Regions from separate parts of the Homo sapiens genome. Here region 1 is linked to region 2. The links are contacts of gene promoters, found by promoter capture Hi-C in human tissues and cell types (Jung and others, 2019). All regions are on one chromosome and are shown on one strand. The core of a region is centred on a gene start or on the middle of the fragment in contact, and the rest is flanking DNA. Distances in the headings are between cores, read along the strand shown.

Region 1 (5,357 bases), core at 2,837-5,336, 320 kb after region 2:
GCTATGCTGCCCAGGCTGAAAGAATCTTATTTTATACAGTGACATTCATTCTCTTAAAAATATAGCTTTACGGTTACTTTTTATTATACATAAAATGAATTTCAAGGAACGGTAATATCCACATGGGCTAAAAATGCATATGGAATCTACGTAAGAAAAATGCCAATAATGCTCTAGGGTGAAATTACCTGGGGCTTTTAATTCATTCATTCAACCTGTACTTCTAAGCGCTCACTCCGGAGAGGTTACAGGTGCTAAGAATTCAGCAGAGAACAAAGGACAACCATCCCCGCTGTCATTTACACTCTGAAGGGAGGAAAGAGAAATTAAACCACAGACACACAGATTATAGAGTGTATTAGAAATGACGCCCTAAGTGCTAATGAGAACAATGGAGCAGGGGAAGGATATAGGGAGTAGGATTGTAATTAAAACTGGGATTGTCAAGGAAGGGCTGGGCAGGGGAGGGGGTAGTGGGGATGCAGATGACACTTGTGCCAAGACCTAAAGGGGATGAGAGAGAGAGGATGTCTGCAGGAAGGATGACTCTAGGCAAGGAAGCCAGTGTGGTTGAAGGTGGCAAGATGGAGATGAGTGCACAGTGGTCATGGGGAACAGATCCTGTAGGGTCTTAAAGGTTCTTCCGTGTGATCTGGAGCAACTGGAGGGTCTTGAGCAGAGAACTGGGGTGTTTTAACAGGATCACGCTGACTGGTGGTTTGAAAGTGGCCTGTGGGAGCTTGCTGTGTTTTGTTTTGCAGCAATGGGAAGGATGTGGTTGCCACTTCCTGAGATGGGGAAGGTGGGGAGAGTAGTAGGTTTGGGGAGTTAGGTGGGGAGTTCAGGTCTGGATGAGTTGGGTTTGAGATGTCTATTAGACATCCACGAGGAGATGCCCAGTAGGCAGTCTTCGCCCTCACCTCTCCTCTACCTCCTCTCTTATGATTACAGAAGTTGTGGCCTGCATCAAGGCGTGCATCAGCCTTCCAGTAACCCCACTGGCAGAACCTTGCACCCCGTTAAGGGCTACTGTCCATTCGGAGCAAGGGGCACATTAGATAATTTGCCCTACCAGAGAGAGCAATTATAGCAATTACTCCAAGGCAGGTGTTTGGTATCTGTGGCCTTTAGCAGTTGAATGTCGGAGTCCAAGGGAAAGGTGTGAGCTGCAGACATAGACGTGGGGATCATCAGCTTGAAGCTGTTGTGCAAAGTCATCAGATCAGCAGAGGAAAGGATTTACAAAGAAATATATATAACACCGCACAGGGTTGTTGTCTTGTGAGGATTAAATTAAATACACACTTAAAACATCCGGAATACAGACAGTGCTTAATAAAGAGCTGCTGTTTTTATTAACAAACTTATCTGTAGGAGCTCGTCCATGGACAACATCCAGTTCATACAGATGCGTGCGCATTTCGCAGCAGCCATACACGCCCAAAGAGGACGAGACTGGATGTGATTGAGCTGACTGGCATCTTTAGATGGATGGTCCTCAGTCCAGTCCTTCCATTTTACAGGCGAGGAGGCGGAAGCTTGGGGAGGCTAAGCGCGCTGAGCTGGCGGCGGAGCGGAGCTTCCACTAGGGCTCCCAGTTTCCCCGCACCGCGCCCGCCGTCCTCCGGGCCACCCATCCCACCCGAACGCGCCACCGCTCTAGCCCGCGCTCCAGCCCGCGCGTCACCGACGCCCGCGGCCTCTCCCACCTCTAAGTTCCAGGAAGCTCTCGGCCTCTAGCTGACCGCGTTGCTGCTGAGCTTCCCTGGGGAGAAGGCGCCGAGGTGCCCGGTGCGGGCCGAGGCAGGGCTGGGCCTCGCGGGCAGCAGGCGGAAGAAGGAAGGGCGGTGGGGCAGGTCCCGGCTGCGCGGGGCAGTTGTGCGCACTTGGGTTCTTCACGCGGGACACACGTGGAACGCCGACCCCTGCGCCCCTGGCCGCTGGCAACTGGCAAGGCCGGGAACAGAAAGTGTAGGGACAGAAGAGCGCTGGAGTCTTCCCCGGGAGGGAGCCCGGGGCTGCAGCCCAGGGGCGGGGAGCGGGGCGGGGCTGGGAAAGTTGAGTACTGGTCGCTCAGGGCCGGGCTCCGCCGGAGTGCCCGGCGCAGAAACCGTAAAAGGCTGGAGCGGGCGGGGTAGGTGTGGCTCTGTGTGCGTGACCTGAGCCCCGGTCCCAGTCCCTGTAGTCTCCTGCGGCCGCGGCCTCTCAGCCATGGGCGCCGTCTGGTCCGCCCTGCTGGTTGGAGGGGGTCTGGCCGGAGCACTTTTCGTTTGGCTGCTGCGGGGCGGCCCTGGCGACACCGGGAAGGACGGGGATGCGGAGCAGGAGAAAGACGCCCCTCTTGGGGGAGCTGCGATTCCGGGAGGCCATCAGAGTGGCAGCAGCGGACTGAGCCCTGGACCTTCCGGGCAGGAGCTGGTCACCAAACCAGGTATTCTTCCCCCCGTGACTCCAGGGCACATCTGCCAGAGCTTTGAGGTTCATCGAGGAAGGGAGCAAAGAGACAAACCCACCTGGAGCTTTCCTAGGGGCCCATTCCTGCGGACGGGCTCTCCTAAGGGGACTGGGCCATCCCCACGCCCCTCGGTTTCCCAGGCTGGTTGGTACGCGCAGGCAGGTTTCTTGTCTGGTCCTCCAAGGGCCGCGCCCTTGCCGAGTCCCTCAGCGCCCGCGCCTGAGGACTTGGTCCTGCCCCTCCGGCGGGGATGAGCTCCTCCACTTGGCGGCGCTTGGTGCAGTGCGGGCGGCTGCAGTGGCGGCGCCCCTTCCCGGCCTTTGGAAAGGGGGGCTTAGGTTTAGGGGATCCTACAAGCCTCTTCGATCTCTGCCCAAGCAGGGACATTTTCTAAGTCCCAATCCGGGTAGTCTGACATCCTCCCATCGCACAGCCCATGAAGAGCTGGGTTTGGGAACACCCGAACTGCGGGCGCCTCCTGCTATCTGGATGCTTCTTTAGGAAGGCAAAGTTCAGGTTGGACTCTGGCCATGAAGGCTGTGGCTGAGGCCCTGGGGATGTGCCTTGGTCACCCCTTTCAGCACTGTCGGCAGTCCCCTCCACGCTGCCCCAGAATAGGGCCGGATAGTCATCCCTAGGAAGGGACTACTTAAATAGGGGACCCAACCCTGATGAGTAGAATTGACATCTGGGTTTAAATTTCTGTATTTTAGGGACCGTTTGCTAAGCAGAGAGCGAACACTGGCAGAAAAGCTTACCGTCCAGTGCCCTCCCTTGGCAAGCTGCCCATGCCTGGACAGAAGCCTAATGGTGAAAATGACATCTGTGAACTTTATTTTTAGCCCAGTGGTGTTCATGTGCAGCCATATGAAAATCTGCCCGTGTGCCTTTACTGTGATTGGTCTGGGATGCCTAGACAGTTCACTTATCTTTTTTCTGAAGACCAATCTCATGCTTTAGGTTGAAAAGTTGGGAATCCAGAATAATATTTGTTCATTCTCACTTCCAACTCCCACCATCACCGAGGCGGGCAAATCACAAGGTCAGGAGTTCGAGACCAGCCTGGCCAATATGGTGAAACCCTGTCTCTACTAAAAGTACAAAAATTAGCTGGGCGTGGTAGTAGGCGCCGGTAGTCCCAGCTACTTGGGAGGCTAAAGCAGGAGAATCGCTTGAACCCGGGAGACAGAGGTTGCAGTGAACCGAAATCGTACCACTGCACTCACTCCAGCCTGGGTGACAGAGCGAGACTCCATCTCAAAAAAAAAAAAAAAAAAGGGATAAAATGAAACAAGACTGTTGTCCCCATACCACCACCACCCCCACACCACATAAAACCACAGCTGTGCTGATTGTATGTATGATTTGGAGATTTCAATCTTGTAGGGAGCTATTTGGACTACCAATGGCATGGCCAAGAAGGAAACTGCATTTTTAGAGGACTTGGATTTTGTATTTTTAAGAACGTTTTTTAAAAAATGCTTACAATGGAAGGGGATACAAAACACCGTTTTGTTGGGGAGGTTCCTAACGCATATGGGATTGGCAAGGAGAAACCAGCCCCTTCCCCCAGTTCTCCCTCCACTCCTGCCCAGGGAAGCACTACTGTTCTCCGTATCTCCCCAAGGTGACAGCTCCTGCTGATCTGCCCGCAGGTCTGCGAGAGCCAATCCCTGCCCTGCATGCCTCCCCTGGGAGAACAAGTGTACTCTTCTGGTTTGTAACGTAGCCACGCAGCCCTTTGCCCCACAGCCTGGACAACATTCTTTGATGATAGGAGCCAAGCAACTTAACTTGGCTGCATGCCAGTATGGCCTGGACTGTGGAGACTGGGGACCATGGGGGGGTTACACGTCTGCCTCTACAGCTTACCACTTCATTTACACTTGTGCTGGCACACTGATACTCCTGGATGTCCCTTTTGTTGTCAGATATACATGTGTATTCTTAGAGCACAGTGTTGGGAGCATACTGGTTAATTAAGTAGTACTTGATTTTAATAGAGGGGGACTTTGTGAATTGCAGATTGATTAGTAGTAAAGCTTTCAGTAACTAAATCTATTTTCTCAGCCTGACTTTTTTCTTAAATGAACTACCTGACTCTATTACATTTTTCCTTTGATTTCTTAGAGCATCTTCAAGAAAGCAATGGACATTTGATTTCTAAGACCAAAGACCTTGGTAAACTGCAAGCAGCATCATGGAGATTGCAGAATCCTTCCAGGGAAGTCTGTGACAATTCAAGAGAACATGTTCCTTCTGGACAGTTTCCAGACACAGAAGCTCCAGCTACCTCTGAGACCAGTAACTCTAGGAGTTACTCTGAAGTTTCAAGAAATGAAAGCCTTGAATCTCCTATGGGAGAATGGGGATTCCAAAAAGGACAAGAGATATCTGCTAAAGCAGCTACATGTTTTGCAGAGAAGTTGCCTTCTAGCAACCTGCTCAAGAACAGAGCTAAAGAAGAAATGAGCCTCTCTGATTTGAACAGTCAGGACCGGGTTGACCACGAGGAGTGGGAAATGGTGCCTAGGCACTCATCTTGGGGGGATGTTGGTGTGGGTGGCAGTCTTAAGGCTCCAGTGTTAAACCTAAACCAGGGAATGGACAATGGAAGAAGCACTTTGGTGGAAGCAAGAGGTCAGCAAGTGCATGGGAAAATGGAAAGGGTAGCAGTGATGCCTGCAGGGTCTCAGCAAGTTAGTGTCAGGTTCCAGGTCCATTATGTCACAAGCACTGATGTGCAATTCATTGCAGTAACTGGAGACCATGAGTGTCTTGGGAGATGGAACACTTACATCCCACTCCACTATAACAAGGATGGGTTCTGGTCTCATTCCATTTTCCTGCCTGCAGATACAGTGGTGGAGTGGAAGTTTGTGTTGGTAGAGAATGGGGGAGT
Region 2 (5,734 bases), core at 2,354-4,853:
TGCACCTATTCTGGACATATTCTATTCATATACATTTCATATACATAGAATCATACTCCAATTGTTTTTAAACCTTCTGTAATCAGATTTTTGCACCCATTCCTCTTCCCAAACTGCTCAATGAATCAGGGTAGCCAATGACATCCATGTCGCTAATTTTTTTTTGTTTTGTTTTTCTGAGATGGAGTTTCATCTTGTTGCCCAGGCTAGGGTGCAGTGGCGCGATCTCGGCTCACTGCAACCTCCGCCTCCCAGGTTCAAGCAATTCTCCTGCCTCAGCCTCTGGAGTAGCTGGGATCACAGGTGCCCGCCACCACACCTGGCTAATTTTTGTATTTTTAGTAGAGATGGGGTTTCACCATGTTGGTCAGGCTGGTCTTGAACTCCTGACCTCAGGTGATTCACCCACCTTGGCCTCCCAAAGTGCTGAGACTACAGGTGTGAGCCACCGTGCCCGACCCCATGTTGCTAAATTTAATGGTGGTCAACTTTTGGTATTCATCTTATTTGACTCATCAGCATCTGATGTGCTTGGGTTCTCCCTCCCTTGGGAACATCTTCTATACTTGGCTTCCAGAACACCTCCTGGTTTTCCTCGAAACTTCACTGGCTGCTTTCTCAGTCCCTTTTTCCAGTTACTTAGAAACTCACTGGCCTTTAAATGTTGGGAATCCCCAGGGCTTTCTCTACCTACCCAATCCAGGATCTAATCACCCTTCTTACTACTTCCTGTTACCATCCTAGCACCACTCAACCCAGCATCATCTCTTGCTGTGGATAATTCCAATAGCTTCTTATGTGGTGTCTCTGCTTCTATCTTTGCCCTCCTACATACAGTCTATCCTCAAGTAACGGTGATCTTGTTCTCATATAGGGTGGTTCATGTATTCTTCTGCTCAAAACCCTGTAAAGGCTTCCATCTCATTGGGAGGTAGAATCCCAAATTCACCCCCTTTCCTCATTCCCTATTTGGAGCCACACTGGCCTTTATGTTCCTGAAATCTACCAGGCATACCTACCCCAAGGTCTTTATACCTTCTGTTCCTTCTGCCTAGATCATTCTTCCTAAACATATGCACAGCTCTCCCTCATGTCCTTCAGGTTTTCACTCAAAGATTACTATCTCAAGAAGACCTTCCCTAACTATCCAATTTAAAACTGCAATACCCATCTCACCCCCAACATACATAAGTACTTTCCTATTGTCTTTTTTTCACAGCACTTTTCATTATTTAACATACTATATTATTTGTTACTGTATATCACCCCCTACTAGAATGTCATTTAATGAGCATAGAATTTTTATCGGTACAGCTCAATATTATGTAGTCCCAGGGCCCAGCATTGTGCCTTACATATAGCAGGTAATCAACAGTATTTGTCAAATGAACGAACTTCAGGAAATGGCACTATCATCTACCTAGACATATAAATAAAAAACCTGGGTGATCCTTCATTCCTTCTTTTTTCCTTATCCCCCACATCCACTCCACCAGAAATCCCAAGGCTCTACTAGCTCTACCTCCACGTAGAACAGCACGAATCTTTGCCCATAATTCCAATGACACCACAATCCCTTGCTTGGTTATTCTGAGATCCATTATATTAGTTACCCTGCTTCCAGTGTTGCTCCTCTACAAGCCATTCCACATGTAACTTCCAGAGTAAATTCTTAAAAAAAATATGTCAGATCATGTCACTCTCCTGCTTAAAACTCTTCAATCACTCCCCGAGGCACTCAGAGTGAAATCTAAACTCGTTAACAGGGCCTAAGAGGCTCTGAATAAGCTGACCCCTGCCTGCATTTCCTACATCATCTTCCACTGCCCTCTTCTATGCTGACTACACTTTAGCTACACTGGCTTCTTCTCTGCTTTTTTTCCACCAGTAGCTTCTGCACTTTCTATTCCTTGTACCTAAAATGATGTTTACCTGCCTGGCTCAATATCATCATTGCAGAGCCACCTTCCCTGTTTACGGGGTCTAAATCAGAAGCCTCCAATTCTAACCTATTCCCATCCAGTTTTATTTTCTTCATAATCTCTACCATAATAAGTCTACACTCACTTGAATGTAAGTCCAAGAGAAGAATGCTTTCTTATCTGTCTTATTCATTACTGTACCCCAACGCCTACCTAGAATAACAACACACAGTAGTTATATGTGATTTTGCATATATACTTAAGTGAATTAAAGAAGTAGTTATTACCCCCTTCTTACATATTAAAATACCCACATAGGCTCAGCGATTAACCTGCTTCGGTTACACAACTGGTTAACAACAGTCAGCAGCAGGAGTTATCTAACGGAATTATATAGACTCTCAACTTACCACTTTCTTTGCGAATGGCTATACAATGCTTTAAGCATCTCAAAGCCTTGCCTATGTTACTTAACTTCTTGTACTTGTTTCCTACTCTTTATTTCCACTACCTTGATCCTTGGAGAGGCTTTCTCTACTGGTGACCTAAGCCACTGAGATTGCCATGTGTTAAAAAGCACTCATAAAATACATATATGTGAAAATTTAGGGGAGGAGGGAAGTGAGAAGGGCAATGAAAAAATAAGTAATTGTGTTAGCCACTGAACAAATCACAATCTGGTAGAAGCACAAACATGTAATTGCAGCAAATGCCTAGCAGAGATACCTGTTTAATGCCCGTCTGATAAATGAGTGTCTGAAGGAAGCACCTGTCAGATTAATATATCAAAAACCACTTTCGTTTTGTCGGTACTTGGTTCAAACACCCCTAATGTTCACAACTTACATGAGGTCAGTACACAAAGCCCATCACAATGAGGGCCTAATTTTTCAACCTAATCTTTTCCCGAAGCAAATTCTGACATCCGAGTCATGCCAGTCTCCGGTAAGTTTGAATCCTGGCTTAACTAAATATACTAAGCTCCCGAGTCTGTCCGTTGTGCTTGAGAAACCCCCCCCCCCCCTTTCCTGGCACAGTCCAGGGTACACAGCCTGCTCTCAGAAACGGACGTCAATCGAAAGCATTCTAACATACGATTCATCAAAGGTTACCGACTAATTCAAGTTTGGGATTTCTGAAAAGAGGCTGAGAAATCCGCGTGGAAGTTGGTGGTTGGGTGCGGCCCATTTCTCTCTCCACTTCCGTGCGGACGAAGAAAAATATCTTAAAACAAAATGAGGTTTTAAAGGTGTTTCAGCGGCAGCAGGGCAGGTAGAAAATCCAAAGGGGCAACAGATTTTCAAGAGGTGGGGAACGAACCCTAAGGCATGTCCCGTCCCCAACCCCTTCTCTCCTCTGGAGGGACCCCTGAACCTAACAGAAGAATAGGCGGCGAGCCTGGATCCCAGCCCCACTCCATGCTTTCCCGCACCGGCGTCTCAACCATCCACTATCCGGCCTCTAGCGTCTGCCGCGCCGCACTCCCACCTCCTCGATGTAGGCCGGCGGGTCTCGCTTGATTAGATTCTGTAACTGCGGCAGGTTGCTGGGAAGCTTGTTGTTGTTTCTGTTGGACATTTTGGCTGCAGACAGACTTCGCGGCGAGCAGTTTTAAAAAAACTCAGACGGCCGGCACCCCGCAATCCCTGCCAGCTGCAGCTTGGACTCGTGTTTCCGGGTATGACCGGAAATAGCGCATGGGACTCTAGGCAGGCGACACCTTAGCGGTTCCTAAAGCGAGCTATGCTACGGAAGCCTCAGAGTGTCAAAATTACTCTCGTTGCCAAAATACTCTGTGGTGTATTGGAGAGCCAGCCACCGCCGACCCGCCCCTCGCCCTTGGGCATATGCTACTACTTAATATTGCCTTGCGTTTCTGAAAGGATCTGAAATGTAAATTTTTTCACGTGTGTTAGCATGTATCGTCATTCCGACACCCATATGAAGCACATAAATGAGGATTAATCGTTTATTTTTAATCCCGCAGTCTAAAATTAGAAACTGACGCCTGTAATCCCAGCACTTTGGGAGGCCAAGGCGGGCCTGAGGTCGGGAGTTCGAGACCGGCCTGATCCACATGGAGAAACCCCGTCTCTACTAAAATTACAAAATTAGTCGAGCGTGGTGGCGCATGCCTGTAATCCCAGCTACTAGGGAGGCTGAGGCAGGAGAATCGCTTGAACACAGGAGGCGGAGATTGCGGTAAGCCGAGATTGCACCATTTCACTCCAGCCTGGGCAACAAGAGCGAAACTCCGTATAAAAAACAAAACAAAACAAAACAAAACTGAAAAGAACCGTGGCGCTAGATAACACTATTCCCTCTTAGGAGGAAAAAAGAGCAACGAGGGTCATATAAGTTAATGTGTATGATTTTAGATATGTTTTTATTTTGGTTTTGGTTGTTTCAACTTAGCGTGACCCATACAAGGGAAAAGAGGGCTGGATAAAATGTGATCATGTTGACCATTAATAAATGCAATTAATCGTTAAAATTCAACCATCGTTATAAGCTTTGTAAGCACTCCTCAGTCAGAGTTTTTAATTCAGATCCTGGTAATTCGAAGAGGAGAATACATTTCTACAATCTCAAGGTGTAAAAAATCAATAAGGGTTGAATGAATGAGGTAGGGTGTTGTGAATTAGAGAGAGAGAAAAAAAAACCTAATTACCCACCCTGTGCCAGGCACTATTCCAAGCACTTGTATTAACTTATTTAATCCTCAGAACAACCCTCTAAAATAGGTGCTATTGTTATCTACATTTTACAGAAGAGGAAACAAGCTCAGGGAAGTTGACTGCCTCAATTCATAGCCTGTGAGGAAGATGAGATTTCAATCTAGACAGTCTTGATTGTAACTACATGAGAAAAAACATAGCCTAACAGCTGGTAGCTGGTTGCTGGTCTGGCAAAATAGCCAGACAATAGGGTTCTGCTTAACCAAAGCAATTTTATAGAACGCCAACCTCATCTGTGACGATGATAAAATGAGCCCCAAACAAAACAACTCTGTAATCACACCTGCACACAAAATAAAGAATGCTTCACAAACCATGTTATTCAGCTGCTTTTGGAGAATGACTTATTTATTAATTATCAAATCAGTTACCTGTGAAGTTAAGAAATAAATGTCAGCAATAAATCTTTTTTAAAAAGCATAGATTTAAATTAAAATTTTTTGGCTAGGTTGTTTTAGTGAGGGCAAAAAAAGTATTCTCAAAACAAAATCTGGCTAAGTGTGGTAGCTCAAGCCTGTAATCCCAGAACTTTGGGAAGCCAAGGTGGGAGAACCACTTGAGCTGGGTAGTTCAAGACTAGCCTGGGCAATATAGTGAGACCCCATCTCTACCAAAAAGTTGAAAAATCAGCCAGGCATGGTGGCACAGGCTTGTGGTCCAAGCTACTGAGGAGGCTGAAGCAAAAGGGTTGCTTGAGCCCAGGAGGTTAAGGTTGCAGTGAAGCACTGCACACCAGCCTGGGCAATACAGTGAGACCCTGTCTCAAAAAAAAAAAAAAAAGAAAAAAGACTGCGTACAGGTACTTGAAAATGTCTGGTGTATTGAAACAATAGCCATAAGTTTGGTGTGACTAAAGGCTGGGAGGGCAGGGTGCAGCAGGGAAAGAGCTGAGAAGGTTATATTGTCCTGATATGAAAGGCTTTAATTGCTATTCTAAGGAGGGCATATAGGTCAGTTCATTTTACCTCCAGCAGCATGGAAGGCAGGATTTGTTTTTGATAAATGAGAACTCTAAGACTAAGAGTGGCTAACTGAATATATATTTTTCAGATGTTAAATAATTTGGGTATCTAA

The links. The method cuts DNA at HindIII sites, captures the fragments that hold promoters and counts their contacts. A contact is called where the count stands out against the background at its distance.
Region 1: a contact is called between a fragment that was not itself captured here and the fragment with the promoter of SDAD1 in region 2, in 1 of the 25 tissues and cell types used here (dorsolateral prefrontal cortex).

Annotation. Positions count from the first base shown.
Region 1 is chr4:76,304,559-76,309,915 of GRCh38, forward strand. FAM47E-STBD1 (FAM47E-STBD1 readthrough) reads left to right here. Exons shown (of 7, transcript NM_001242939.2): 7 at 4,586-5,357. The coding sequence ends at 4,615. STBD1 (starch binding domain 1) reads left to right here and starts at 2,175. Exons shown (of 2, transcript NM_003943.5): 1 at 2,175-2,431; 2 at 4,586-5,357. The coding sequence starts at 2,212. The HindIII fragment of the contact is 3,427 bases long and covers 2,374-5,357 here.
Region 2 is chr4:75,987,342-75,993,075 of GRCh38, forward strand. SDAD1 (SDA1 domain containing 1) reads right to left here and starts at 3,604. Exons shown (of 22, transcript NM_018115.4): 1 at 3,411-3,604. The coding sequence starts at 3,500. All of the region lies in intron 1 of SDAD1-AS1 (SDAD1 antisense RNA 1), which reads left to right. The HindIII fragment of the contact is 8,316 bases long and covers 1-5,734 here.